Regions from separate parts of the Homo sapiens genome. Here region 1 is linked to region 2. The links are contacts of gene promoters, found by promoter capture Hi-C in blood cells and fetal thymus (Javierre and others, 2016). All regions are on one chromosome and are shown on one strand. Each heading gives the region's core, a stretch centred on a gene start or on the middle of the fragment in contact. The rest is flanking DNA. Distances are from core to core; before and after follow the strand shown.

What was found. Contacts are between HindIII fragments. The CHiCAGO score rates a contact against its expected background, and 5 or more counts as called.
Region 1: a contact is called between a fragment that was not itself captured here and the fragment with the promoter of EHD3 in region 2, in 2 of 17 cell types (naive CD8 T cells and monocytes). The highest score is 6.6, in naive CD8 T cells.

What each region holds. Positions count from the first base shown.
Region 1 is chr2:30,719,153-30,726,448 of GRCh38, reverse strand. CAPN13 (calpain 13) reads left to right here. Exons shown (of 23, transcript NM_144575.3): 23 at 3,213-3,678. Among named protein-coding and RNA genes, the nearest start is that of CAPN13, 85 kb to the left of the region's middle. RefSeq lists enhancers at 4,464-4,964, 4,965-5,465. The HindIII fragment of the contact is 993 bases long and covers 2,963-3,955 here.
Region 2 is chr2:31,231,114-31,238,388 of GRCh38, reverse strand. It overlaps EHD3 (EH domain containing 3), which reads right to left and starts at 4,237. Exons shown (of 6, transcript NM_014600.3): 1 at 3,541-4,237. The coding sequence starts at 3,767. It also overlaps a transcript of CAPN14 not described here. The HindIII fragment of the contact is 24,555 bases long and covers 1-7,195 here.

The sequences.
Region 1 (7,296 bases), core at 2,210-4,709, 510 kb after region 2:
ATAAAGTTTTATTTTTCCACTCCAATATAGAGGCTTTTTATTTCTTTTTCTTGCCTAATTGTCTGGCTAGAACCTCTAATACAATGCCGAATAGAAGTGTACAAAGCAGACAACCTTGTGTTCCTGATCTTGGGGGAAAACACCCAATCCTTTGCCATTAAATATGATGATCACTGTGAGTTTTTCATAGATACCATTTGCCAGGTTGAGGAAGTTCACTTCTATTTGTAGCTGGCTGAGTTAACACACTTTTCATTACTTGCTTGATGTCAGTATTCTCTGCTAGACTATAAGCCTGGGTATGTCTTGTTTGTTGCTATTTCCTTAGCACAAAGCGAAACACCTACCCTGGAGAAACTAGTTGGTAACTTTCTCCCAAATAACCGAAATAAATCATTCTTTCAGGTTTATACCTTCCTTTGTTTTGTTCTCATCCTAGCATTTGTTAGTATTAGCTTACATCCTAGTCTTCCTGCTATTTTAGCTATTCTCTATTTTCTTCCCCTTTGGTGTACTGGAAGGCAGGTAGTTAATATTATCTTGTTATTATCTCTAATACATCATGACCCATATTATCTTATGAAGGCCTATTTTTCCCTCACTTTTTTGAAAAATTTGAAAATTTCCCTCACTTTTTTGAAAAAGTTGAAAGTGTCCTGGTCACTTCAACTCTATCCAATATTCCCTTACTTTGCTATTACAAAGTTTCTTCTAGGAGTTCCAACACTCTGAGGTCAGCAAAGAGACTTTTATCGTTAGCCAGGATTCGATCCAGAGAAGTCCCTCTCCTTGCTCACTTGATCCTCCGTGTTACAAAGTGTCCCTGGAGCGAGCAAAGTCTTTGTCCTGAGTTAAGCGAGCTTCTCCCAGAGATGAGGGTTATTGGAGCTCCATCACCAGTCTACTTGGTTTCCAGGTCACTCCCTACAAAACTGTGTACAAGAGGTCTTTTATCTGCCCTTGGACTCACCGGGCAAGTTGAGGTATACTTTTGTTGTAAGAATACTTCTGTTCCTCTCTCTGGCTCATCTTCAACCCATCTGCTCTCCTCTGACCTAGCAGATTGGGATATAGGTATATGCAACTGGGATGAACTCCTCTTCCTCTCTTCCCATCATATATATTTCTTTTAAACAAAGTGTATGCCTTGTTGTCACATTGCAGGCAATACCTATGTTAAAATATGTTAAAATATGTTTAAATATAAAGTTCATACTTGAAAGAATGCTAACACTTAACTCATTGCTCTGTGCTCCTTGGACACTTGAGGCTGTATTGATTTTAATTGATTTCAGAGTCTAGAGGTTTAATACACGGCAAATCACACCCTGCTGAGAGTTTGTCTAGCTAATGTCATCTACATCCATGTTGATCTATCAATATGCCAGTAAAATGCCTTATTCTAACAAAATTGTCATTTATAACAATTTCCCACTGTATAAAAATACAGTTTCTTGAGGAAAGGGCCACCTTCTCCTATTCTGCAGGATTTAGGTGAAATATGACAACAGTGGCCCTGGTCTTACTGAGACCAACAACCATTTTCTGCAGGATGAGTCTACTTCTAGCCCAGTAAATCCATCTCTCCAATCTCATTCTGTTCATCAAAAGAAATTCTTTTCGAGAGACCTGGCTAGATGTTCGGTTGAAGACTGACACCCCAGGGCAGATGGAACTGTCAGAGTTCAAGTTAAACTCTCCTATACTTCTGAGTTGAGAGTTGTGAGTCTGGATGTGCCTCTGGTGATGTGAAAACACTCAACACCATTGGCAAGCATACACCTGGTGGTTACCAGGCACCTTGAGATGCCAGGGTGTCCAGCCTTCTGGAGCTGGCTTTGGAAGAAAAATGTATCCAACTGGGAAACCGACATGTACACTCCAAGGGCATAAACCAAGGAGGAGGAAGAGTTGGAATCCGGGAAACAGAAGATCCAACACTAGACAGAGACAGGGAAGTCCAAGGACCAGCGCTATGCAGCAGAGCAAGAGAGTGAGCCATTCCGAGAGGAGCTGGAGGGGTGGCCTTTGGGGAAAATGGGAGCAATTTTTGATCAGATTGCTTAATTATAGAAAAAATAATGTTCAGAGGGATTTTGAAATTCTGCTGGAGAGCTTTGGAAGAATTAGTAGGATAATGACTTAAACTAAGCAGACAAAAAAGTGAGGTAGTTATTAACTCCTGGAAGAATAAAGAGTTACAGAAGAGAGAAAATGTGATCCTAGAGTATTTTTTCACTCAGCAGTGAACAGTACATATATAATTGTAATAAAATACAAATGGAATATTGATTTAACAAAAATGTGACATAAATATATCAGAAGGAGGGAAGATGTAGACATGAAAGGGGGTTAGAAGCAACCCCACCCCATCTTGCATCATAAGAAGTCAATAGGCATTTAAAATTGACAAATCAAGAATTAACTGCATAAGCACATTACCTAGAAATATGGAGGTAAACATCAGAAGAAAGAGTTTAGGGAGGGGAATTTGGATAGAAATGGGACAAGAACCTGCTATTTTTCCTTCGTGCCTTGTAGTACTCTTTGAATTTTCTAACCATGTATCTTGGACTGAGTTTTCATGGAAAAAAAAATAGGCAAACTAGCAAGTAGTCTGAGAGACAAGAGAGGTGGAGGGAGGCAGGGAAGAAGAGTTGAGGCCTCTTTACCCCATGGGTAGGGCAGCTGGCTGATTATTGCAGAAAACATGACTATGCACGAATGTCACTTTATTCCAAGCCCCCTGCACTTGAGAAAAACCACTCCTCTGCAGAAGTCCAAAGCTAGCCATCTGGAGCTTGGATGGGACAGAGCTCAGGGCTGTTGTTACTATAGCAGCCCCTGGCCTCAGCCCTTCTAACCTGCCTGGAGATGGGAGGAACATCTCTCCCCCAAGTTTCCCTCCACTCCAGTGCCAGCCCTCAAGGTGCTAAAATGGGCTATGATATGAACTCAAGCTTGGGGCAGGACAGGTGGGGGGGTGCCCTTTAAGGAATTTTGAAGAATGGGGTAGGGTCATCCATTAAGGGGCCATGGGCACGTTGGGGTCTGTCAGCCTTGCCAGCAGGAAGTGCCAGTGCTTCCTTTACTGTGGGATGATCCAGAACAGCATCTTTGGAATGGGGCCCCACTTCCATGGTCACTCAAAGGAAGGAGTTTCTTTACTCACCCTTGGCCCTCTGCATTTGCACCCCCGTGTCTTTCTCTAGGACAAGCTCCCAGTGATCACTCAAGAATCTGGCTCTCATTCTAAGAGGCTGTGCTGCCCAGTATGGTGGTTGTGATAAATCTAAACCAGCCCTGCATGAAACAGAGTCCAAGCTGTCTCCCAACAGCCTGGGTTCGGTCCTTGGCTGGCCCAGGCCCAGTTAAGCCTGTGGCCACCAAGCAGCTCATCTGAGCACTTTGGGATGTATTCAGCCTACGTTGCCCTGGAAAAGGAAGCAGGAGATGTCTCCCTGTGGGAAAGGAGAAGAGAAGTTGTCTCTGAGTCCCCTGTCACCAGTTGGATTCATTTCTTGGAAGAGCCAGAATGAGCCACTTTGACCACCCTCGGGTGCTATGGGTGACACAAGAGCTGTCCACTGGGTGTTTGCAGAATAATTACACTATCTTATGTCTGGATCCTGATGATTTCACAGCTAAATGGCAAAAATAAAACATGTTTCCCATAAAGGTCTCTCATTCATATTCTGTCTTAAAAATACATTTGGGGAAGAGGAAAAGTACCCAGCAAGGCAGACGCTTCCCTCACTCTCTCCTCATCCATGGTGCGGTCACTGGGTGTCTCAAAAAGGTGAGGCCCACAGAGGATGGAAGAGATTCCACAGCATAACTGGGCCAGATCCCGCTCAGAAGAATTTGCAGTTGGAAAGCTCATTTCTGGATGCATCAACCCAGTAGGGGAATCGTTGCAAATGGGTGTGTCAAAAGGACAGGAAGGTGGGAAGCTTGCTGAGTGTGACTTTCTGAGTGGCACGGTCGGAGGACAGGATGGTGTGGACAGGGCTGCATCATCACACACACACCCATGCCAGGAGCAAGGGCAGTGCTCGGCAGTGATGGCATGCTGTATACAAGTACCAAACAGGCCCAAGTGACCTCATCCACAGGGACTGTTGTAAAGCCTCCACAGTCATTTCAAGTAGAATAGCTACCTGCCTAAGGAGTTGAACCCCTCTTGCTAATGCTTTTGAATAGCGAGAGGGTCAGACACACAGCAAAGTTTGGGACAGGTCACTTTGCCTCCCAGTCCCCTGCTTGGTTAGCCAGGATAGATGCCCATGTTTGTGAGCATGGACTTTGGAGTTAAAGCTAATATCTAAAGATCCTGAATCCTAGGCTGTCAGACTGCCCTGTTGCATAAGATTTTCTGCATGCAAAAAAACTGGGGCTGGCAGGTCAACAGAGACTCTGATAAGTGGGAAAATCCATAAGAATGAATAAGCCATTTCCTGCAGGATTCAAAGATGACCTTCACCCAGGCATCCAGGTAGAAAGTCCAGCCCACCTGCACAATTTGCTGCCACAACCACATGTCATTCCAAGCTCCTTTTGGGCCTGCTTGCACCCTGGAGGACAAGCAGAAATGGATGATTCTGCAGGCCTAGGGTCAGTGGTGAGCAGCCCCAGGGGTCTGCACAGGCTGGACTGGTGTTCTCAGGATACAGGGCAATTTCTTCCCTCACAGGGCTTTGCTCAGGGACCAGTCATTAATTTTCTCTTTAACAGGATTTAAAGGGGCAGGGTCCTCAATTGCTTGATTGAAAAACTGATTCTCCCTGTCATGCTGGGGCTCTGAAGGCTCAGAAAGGCTCCAGGTGGCCACGGCAGAGGGGCCTGGGCTTCCCTGCTTGGAGCTGGGGGAGATTATATTCCAGTCTCCCCAGGGAAGGGCAGGACCTTGATCCTTAGCCCCAGCACAGGGCAGACCAGCCAGCTCACCCCGAGGCTGCATCTCCTTGGGACTCCCCATGTCCTTCAGCCAAAGTTGAGAAAGGGCTCCAGAGCAGGGCGGGCTTGACAGGCTGACGATCTCAGACAAACCCTGCCCCTGCCAGCTTCTTACACTTGGGTCCTGGGATGGGTTGCTTTGTCTCTGCAAGATGAGGAGGTGAGCAAGGACCATGGCTGGTGCCCAGATGGAGGGGTGGGATCCCTCACAGAGCAAATGACAAAGGCTCAGGCACAAATCCCACCTGCCCCCCAGGCTCCCTAGAGCTTCTGCTACTAAAGCCATCGTATGATGGAAGCAAGGTGTCCAGATGAGATTTCTGAGGCCCCGAGAAGAGGTGGCCATGCCATTAGCAGTGGCAGATACAGTGTGTCTCTGGGACACATTTAAAGTAGAGTGTAGAGGGAAATTTATAGCACTAAATGCCCACAAGAGAAAGCAGGAAAGATCTAAAAGTGACATCCTAACATCACAGTTAAAAGAACTGGAGAAGCAAGAGCAAACACATTCAAAAGCTACCAGAAGGCAAGAAATAACTAAGATCAGAGCAGAACTAAAGGAGATAGAGACACAAAAAAACCTTCAAAAAATCAGTGAATCCAGGAGCTGGTTTTTTGAAAACATCAACAAAATTGATAGACTGCTACCAAGACTAATAAGAAAAGAGAGAAGAATCAAATAGATGCAATAAAAAATGATAAAGGGGATATCACCACCAATCCCACAGAAATACAAACTACCATCAGAGAATACTATAAACACCTCTATGCAAATAAACTAGAAAATCTAGAAGAAATGGATAAATTCCCGGATGCATACACCCTCCAAAGGCTAAACCAGGAAGAAGTCTAATCCCTGAATACACCAATAACAGGCTCTGAAATTGAGGCAATAATTAATAGCCTACCAACCAAAAAAAGTCCAGGACCAGACGGATTCACAGCCGAATTCTACCAGATGTACAAAGAGGAGCTGCTACCATTCCTTCTGAAACTATTCCAATCAATAGAAAAAGAGGGAATTCTCCCTAACTCATTTTATGAGGCCAGCATCATCCTGATACCAAAACCTGGCAGAGACACAACAAAAAAAGAGAATTGTAGACCAATATCCCTGATGAACATTGATGCAAAAATCCTCAATAAAATACTGGCAAACCGAATCCAGCAGCACATCAAAAAGCTTATCCACCACGATCAAGTGGGCTTCATCCCTGGGAGGCAAGGCTGATTCAACATACACAAATCAATAAAAGTAATCCATCATATGAACAGAACCAAAGACAAAAACCACAGGATTATCTCAATAGATGCAGAAAAGGCCTTTGACAAAATTCAACAGCACTTCATGCTAAAAACTCTCAATAAACTAGGTATTGATGGGACGTATCTCAAAATAATAAGAGCTATTTATGACAAACCCACAGCCAATATCATACTAAATGGGCAAAAAGTGGAAGTATTCCCTTTGAAAACTGGCACAAGACAGGGATGCCCTCTCTCACCACTCCTATTCAACATAGTGTTGGAAGTTCTGGCCAGGACAATCAGGCAGGAGAAAGAAATAAAGGGTATTCAATTAGGAAAAGAGGAAGTCAAATTGTCCTGATTTGCAGATGACATGATTGTATATTTAGAAAACCCCATCATCTCAGCCCAAAATCTCCTTCAGCTGATAAGCAACTTCAGCAAAGTCTCAGGATACAAAATCAATGTGCAAAAATCACAAGCATTCTTATACACCAATAACAGACAAACAGAGAGCCAAATCATGAGTGAACTCCCATTCACAATTACTTCAAAGAGAATAAAATACCTAGGAATCCAACTTACAAGGGACGTGAAGGACCTCTTCAAGGAAAACTACAAATCACTGCTCAACGAAATAAAAGAGGACACAAACAAGGGAAGAACATTCCATGCTCATGGATAAGAAGAATCAATTGTGAAAATGGCCATACTGCCCAAGGTAATTTATAGATTCAATGCCCTCCCCATCAAGCTACCAATGACTTTCTTCGCAGAATTGGGAAAAAGTATTTTAAAGTTCATATGGAACCAAAAAGAGCCCACATTGCCAAGACAATCCTCAGCCAAAAGAACAAAGCTGGAGGCATCACGCTACCTGACTTCAAACTATACTACAAGGCTACAGTAACCAAAACAGCATGGTACTGGTACCAAAACAGAGATATAGACCAATGGAACAGAACAGAGCCCTCAGAAATAATACCACACATCTACAACCATCTGATCTTTGACAAACCTAACAAAAACAAGCAATGGGGAAAGGATTCCCTATTTAATAAATGGTGCTGGGAGAACTGGCTAGCCATATGT
Region 2 (7,275 bases), core at 2,988-5,487:
ATATTACTGAAAGTGGATGGACCCTCAGGGGCAAAACGCCAAGAACTGGGGGAATAAAGAGGCAAATCTTTGTTTCTGAGGAAAAGGCCCCTCACAGGTTCAGGCCTGGCATGGAGACAAGAATCAAGGCAAGAAGCAGGGATGGGAGAAGGGAGAGGAGGAGGCCTTCTGAGACCTAGGCATGGACGCACTTATCCACCCCAGAGCAGCCTTACTCGCAATGGGGAAGGGATGCAGTGTCAACTCACCCTCTCGGAAAACAACTGCAAAATATGACTCTTAGTACAAAAATTTTAAAGTTAAAAAATATTTTAAACAAAACCCTGCCCAACCTTTGGCCTAGCAATTCCACTTCTGGGAATCTCAAAAAAACAAAAACAAAAACAAACAAAAAAAACACACACACACAATATAGGAAAAAATATTATACACAGAGATATTCAGAATTATTCTACAATAACAAAAAATTAGAAATAGCCTAAAACATCCAAGAGAAGTAGATTAAGTGAAGAATCGTATATACACACAATGGAATAGTATGCAGCTGTTAAAAACAATGCTATTCATTAGTTGAATGAATAATTGTATATACAAATAGTGAAATAGTATGCAGTTGTTAAAAATAATGCTGACAAATAACGCTTATAACATAGGAAATGTTCATGCTATAAGTAAGAAAAACTGGCCAGACGCAGTGGTTCACGTCTGTAATCCCCAGCACTTTGGGAGGCTGAGGTGGGTGGATCCCCTGAGGTCAGGAGTTCAAGACCAGTCTGCCTAACATGGCAAAACCCCATCTCTACTTAAAATACAAAAATTGGCCAGGCGTGTTGGCGGGTGCCCGTAACCCCAGCTACTTGGGAGGCTGAGGCAGGAGAACTGCTTGAACACAGGAGGCGGAGGTTGCACTGAGCCGAGATTGTGCCATTGTACTCCAGCCTGGGTGACACAGTGAGACTCCATCTCAAAAACAAAAACAAAAATAAACAAGCCAGCATACAAAATTATATGTATAGCATGATCTCAACTGTGCTATAAAATAGCTACAAATACTGGAAATATATTTATATATAAATTATATGCTTTATATATAAATATATTTTATATGTAAATTAAAATAGCTTCTCCTAAGTCATGGGATTATGGGTGACTTTTTTTCTTCTTTAAATTTATTCTTTTCTATATTTTCCAATTAAAAACAACTGTTTACTGGATTTTATGAGAAAGAAGAAAAGTACATGATTTGGTTCTGGAGGGTTCCCTGTGGTATGACCCCTCCTACAGCGCTGGCTGACACTCCCTCAAGGGGAGACAGCTTTTGACGCATGAGCTAAATTCAGTTGCTGACATGAGTGGGGAGAGGGAACTACTGCACATGGAGGATAAGAAAGAAGAGCGATCTGCCTCTCCCGGTCTTACTGTCTCCCTCAGATGAGGAATCATCTGTGGCAATTTGACTCTGCCACTTTCTTAGACCCAGTTAACAGCCAGTGATGACTTAGGCAAAGCCGGGAGAGTGTCTCAGACAAAAGGCGCTCAAACCTGTCTGCTGCTTGGGGATCCTCACCTCTCCCCATCTTCCCTCCCATTCTGCAAAATGTCTACTGGGAACCTCCTATAGCCGAGACCCTGGGCAAGGCCCCAGAGATGCTAAGGCATGGATGTTGTCTTGTCAATGATTGTACACCAGGAAGGAGAAGCTACAGATAATGTATGAAAGGTTATAAATACCATATGTGTAGAGAGCCAGGGAAGGCTGAGAGGGCAAGGGCCATCTGCAAATGGCCTGAACTTCCCCTGAGGCATGAATGGGCCAAGTGGAGGCCAGGGCTCACAAAGGAAACTCTGCAGGCAACCCAGGCAGCTCTGAAGTGCCTTTGGCAGCAATGGGTGCTTAATAAAACAAGAAGCATGGCTTAGATCAGGGGTTCCCACCCTAAAGTCCAAAGAAGGCCCTTGGACCCCCAACATTATATGCAAATTTGGGATGTACGTACATTTTTCTAAAGATAGAAAGTTAAGAAGCAATGGATTAGTTTAATCTCTAAGGCCTCTTGCAGTTCTATCAATATAAAACATACAAGAGCCAACAGGCCCATCACCTCCCAAACTCCTTCAGAAATCACTTGGCCTCTTAAAGCTGCTGAGCCCTAGGCTGTGCACTCCACAAGGACAAACTCAATGTGGTGTTGTGTTTAGACATGACCTATTAGCATGGTGCTACTTCCAGAAGGCTGGCGTTACAAGGTGGATGTTAGAGAAAATTAGTACCTAGAAAATTAGTAACTAGACTGTTAACTTTTCTGCACTCCTCACCAAACAAAGCACAGCATTTCACATGCTGTGGATGCTCAAACAGCCAAGGAATAGGAATAAGGGTACCCCTGCTTTCCAAACCCTCTGCAGGAGATGAGCACACTTGACTTTGGGGGGCCACCAAACTCCATTCTCAAGCTGTGGGAGCCTGAGTCTTAAGACAGAGGGCCACAGCATTCTCAACAATTTGGAATGGCTATAAAAGGGGCCAAGAAAATGGCTGGCCTTGAAGTTGGGAAGATTGAGGACTGGAGTGAAGCCTGTTCTCTAAAGATAAGAAGGGCCTCTGGTGGACTTCTCTGAATGCAGGGTGAACAAATTGACTTCTTGAGCCTCCCTCCAGCCCAAGGATTCTGTAATTGAAGGGAATGGATGACTCATTCTCAGAGTTACAGGCGTTTAGCCAAGCATCTCCTCACATGCATCTAGGACTTAACATCCCAGGTCTGCTGCCCACTCTTTAGATGGCTCTGCACAATTCATTTAACTTCTCTGCGCCTCGGTTATCTCACCTGCAAACTCAGCAACTGGATGAGACAATGCCAATATCCCTTCCATCTCTAAGCGTCTTTAATATTATTATTAAGCCATTAAGATCAAATAAGAGAAAGGGGAAAAAAAAAGCATTCTGCTTCTGGACTCAGCTTCTGTTGAGTCTCCAAGATATATACACAGGAGCTCTGCTTTAGAGAAGGAAATGATAAAAGGAGGACAAGTAGCATCCCCAGGCCACCTCCGTTCCCAGGCCCGCACCCATCAGAACTCAGCTGCAACTGTGAGGCCCCCATGTGAGTGCCAAGCCCCTTGAAAAACAAGGGAAGAGGTTTTGCCCGTGAATGATGTGTTGCTAAAAAGTGAAGACGTAAGACATCCCCACCAACATAAGGCGCTCCAGAGACCAGGAGCTCTTCCATTGTGCCTCCTGGGCCTCGGTTTCATCATCCATAAGATGGGGAGACTGGGAATGGCTTTACACTTGAATACTTCAGGTTGACCACCACAGCCAAGGGCCAAGTAGAGTGGACAGGTATTGGGTAGGATGGGAAGGGGGACCAGCAAAAATTGTGGGGTAAGATTTTGACGCCTGCACAAACACAGATCTCTTCAGAGCCCTCAACTGAAGGCTTCCCATTGGTCCCCTGTCTGGGATGGAGCACCAGGAGTGACCGGAGGGACTAGGCGCTGGGCTCCGGGGTGGGCTGCCAGGACCCTGGGCCGGCTCACCTGATGAAGGTGGTCTTCCCAGTGGAGTACTGGCCCACCAGCAGAACCATGGGCTTGTTGTCGAAGTCGGCATCCTCCAGGGCGGGCGAGTGGAACTCGTGGAAGCGGTAATGCTCTTCCAAGGGCAGCAGCTTGCTCTTGTAGAGTTTCTTGAGCCCCTCACTCACCGTCTGGAAAACCTCGGGGTCCTTCCTCCGGCGGTCGTCCGTACCCAGCCAGCTGAACATCGCGGCCGCCGCTCGCCCCCGGCACGCAGCCCCAGGGGAAGACTCCTCCTCAGGGGAAGATGTCCCGTAGGACCGGTCCGCCGGGCTCCGAGCCGCGCCGCCGCCTCACCCAAGCGCGGGGCTCAGCCGCACCATGGCCCGGGCACGCGGCTAGGAGGGCCGGGAGCGCACTCTCCCTGCTCCTGGGACCAAGCCCAGCCGCTGCTGCATCCAGCAGCCCAGGCCGGAGGGAGGATAAATAATCTGGGCTTGAGGAGGAGGGGTGAAATCTTGGCAATTAAAGTTGAACCTGCAAGGAAACTGCCAGATGCCGGGGTCCCAAGCCGGGGTCCCCGATCGGCCCCCAGCCCTCGCCTGCTCTGCCCTGCGTGCAGCAAGGGATGCTTCGGCTCCGCTCCTGCCGGACCGAGGCGGCTCAGGGGAGACGGCGACGCTGCCCAGCCCGCGGACAGCTCTGCATCCGCAGCAGCATCCTGCAGCCCCAGGCGGTGGTTTAAATGCCAGCTGGGCAGGAAGCCGGCGCGCAGAGGAAGTCCCCTAGTACTGGCAAGGCAGGGCCGGCCCCACGGTTGCGGCGACGGGAAGCCGCGCAGGGCGCCGCCATGTTTGTGGGCAGGCGCTCAGCTCTAGACCTGCGGCCGCGCGGGGAGAGGGATGCTGACCCAGTCCAGTGGGAGAGTGCCGGTGTCTCAGTCTCCGCCTCTGGGGCTTCGATTTGGGAACAGCGCCCTCTCAGGGACGGCTGCGAGGACAGAGTTGACCTATTCATCACACTCCCTGCTTTGAATCGCCTCTCCTTCAGTTGCTGAGGTCAATTCCCTAGGAAAACAGGTACTCTAGTATTGGGGGATTTTTTTTTTTTTTGGCATAGAAAGGGGATCCACTATCAGGTTACACAAAATAACCAAAACTGTCACTACCCAAACTTTTAGCTAGGCTTAGGGTGAAGTCAAAATCGTTCCCATTTACTTATTCATTCATTCCAGCAAAACAAAACAAGCCAAGAAGCAAAATCCCTGCAAGTATTGGGAATTTATTATGGGGCAGTTACAATTTTGGTGACTGTGGATACAGAGATGAGTGCTGAACAGACTCTCCCTTCCAGGAACTCCAGTGAAGGCAGGCTTTAAAGAGGAGGCATGAGCAGAGGGTCATGGGAATACAGGGAGGAGTCACTCCTTTTGTGTGGCTAATTTGAGGAAGGCTTCATGGAAAGCATGACTGTAAGCTGGATCCTAAATGATGAATTGACATCCATTGTTCTAGGAGCGTAAGGAGTATTTGCAAAGGCTTGAGGAACTTGGTGTGTCCAAGGCAGAGTAAACAGTTTGGCATAGCTGGAGTGTAGGGTTTAGGAAGGTGAAAGAGAGTGAGGGAGGCCAAGCATGAAAGGCTTTGCCAGAGATGGGGAACCAATAGCAATGCTATTACTAATCATTGTTACATTAACAAAATGCTCAGCATGTGCAGGGGCCTGGGCTAAGTTCTCAGTGAACATTGCTTTATTTAACCTTCATGGCAGATCATATTATCTCCAGCATCATACTAAGGAGAGTGAGTGGGAACACTGTCCAGGTGTAGGCAAAAGCAGTGCATCGTGTGTAGAGAATTTAAACCCAATAATAAACTTGCTGAAAGTTGATGTGCTTTGTATTGGCACCATTCTAAACAGTGTAGTGATAAAACACTCCTCCCTGCCCAGGCTAATGACTCCCACTACCCTCCCTTCCACAGATGAAGAAGGAGTAGGCTATGGACCAGGCAGGAACTGGAATGCCAAGAGCAGTGTTGGAGGGGCAAAAGAGGTTGGGGGTTGATATGGTTTTGCTTTGTGTCCCCGCATAAATCTCATCTCTAATTGTAATCCCCATAATCCCCATGCGTTTAGGGAGAGAGCTGGTGGGAGGAGATTGGATCATAGGGACAGTTTCATTCATGCTGTTCTCATGATAGTGAGTGAGTTCTCGTGAGAGCTGATGGTTTTATAAGGGGCTCTTCCCACTTGGTTCCTCATACTTCTCTCTCCTGCCGCCTTATGAAGGACGTGTTTGCTTCCCTTTATGCCATGACTGTAAGTTTCCTGAGGCCTCTCTAGGCATGCAGAACTGTGAGTTAATTAAACCTTTTTCCTTTATAAATTACCCAGTCTTAGGTATTTCTTCACAGCAGTGTGAAAACAGACGAATACAGAGGCCAAGAGACCATTTAGGAAACTATTCCAAAACTTAGGAGACAGCTGCAATGGGATTGGAGAAGAGGTCAGACTCAAAAGATTTTTTTCATGGAATAGAATTGTCAGATCTTGGTATGTGATAAAAAAAAGAGGACATAAGGGTGAGGCACAGTCTAGGATGATTTTGAATTTTCTACCATAGGGGATAAGATCATTGGAGAAGCTCTTCCACTAATTAGGGGAGGCAGAGAGAGAGCTGATTTAGCAGACAGAGATAATGTGTTCAATCTAAAACGTGTTGCGTTTGAAGTGCCTGCAGGAGCTTCAAGAGGAGTGTGGTGAAGCTGCAGGGATTTCAGGGGAGGGGGGATTATCAGAGGCCAGTGCTGAATAGAATCTCCTTAGTTACATCTCAGATCTCCCGACTCCCTCCTTGAACCCCAAAACTGATCATCTCTTGTTGAGAATTCACTCAGATTAATATTTCACCCTTGGTGTTTAGCTACTACCAACATACGAACCTAAGGAGTAATATTAAAGATATTTAACAACTCACAAGGCATGAGAATCAAACACCCGGAACAGACACTGGCCTTCCTAGTGGAGCAAGGCTTGCGGCCCCGTGCCACGCCTGGTGTTAATACAGTGGCGTCTGGACCTTGGAGAGATCTGAGCCTGTCCCCGGAGAGAGGTCAGTATGGCCAGCGTGACAGGAAAGAAATCAAGGGGCCCCATTATGGAAGTATTTCAAGAATTTTGTAATCAGTACGGCCATGCCATTGTCTACTGCTGAATGTCTGTTCCGAATATCTAATTTACCAAGTGCGTGTTGACACATCTACTCCCGTCTCAGTCTTGAGTAGTTGAAATCTATCTGTTTAAAAAAGGAACTAATGGAGCATTTCTATAGACTAGCAATAAAAGGTCATGAAAGATAATATTCAAAAAAGATACTGTGTTCAAAAGAACAAAAACTTACGGATAAATCTGACAAAAGATATGCAAGATCTTTATGTGAAAAATAATAAAACTTTATAGAAAGATGTTAAAGAAGTTCTAAGTAAATGGGAGAGACATGCCATGTTCCATTGTGGAAGGATTCCTTGTCACAAACATGTGAATTCTTTACAACATGATTGATAAATTCAATAATTGAGAGATATGATTGAAATCAAAATCTAAATAAGGTTTTCCATGGAAATTGACAAGGTGATTCTAAAATGTATAACTTATAGAGCAATAGTAAAAAAAAGCTTAGATATTCCAGGAGAAGAAAGAAGATAAGAAGAATAAGGAGGAGGAGAGGGAGAGGTGGAAGGGGAAGGAGGGCAGAAA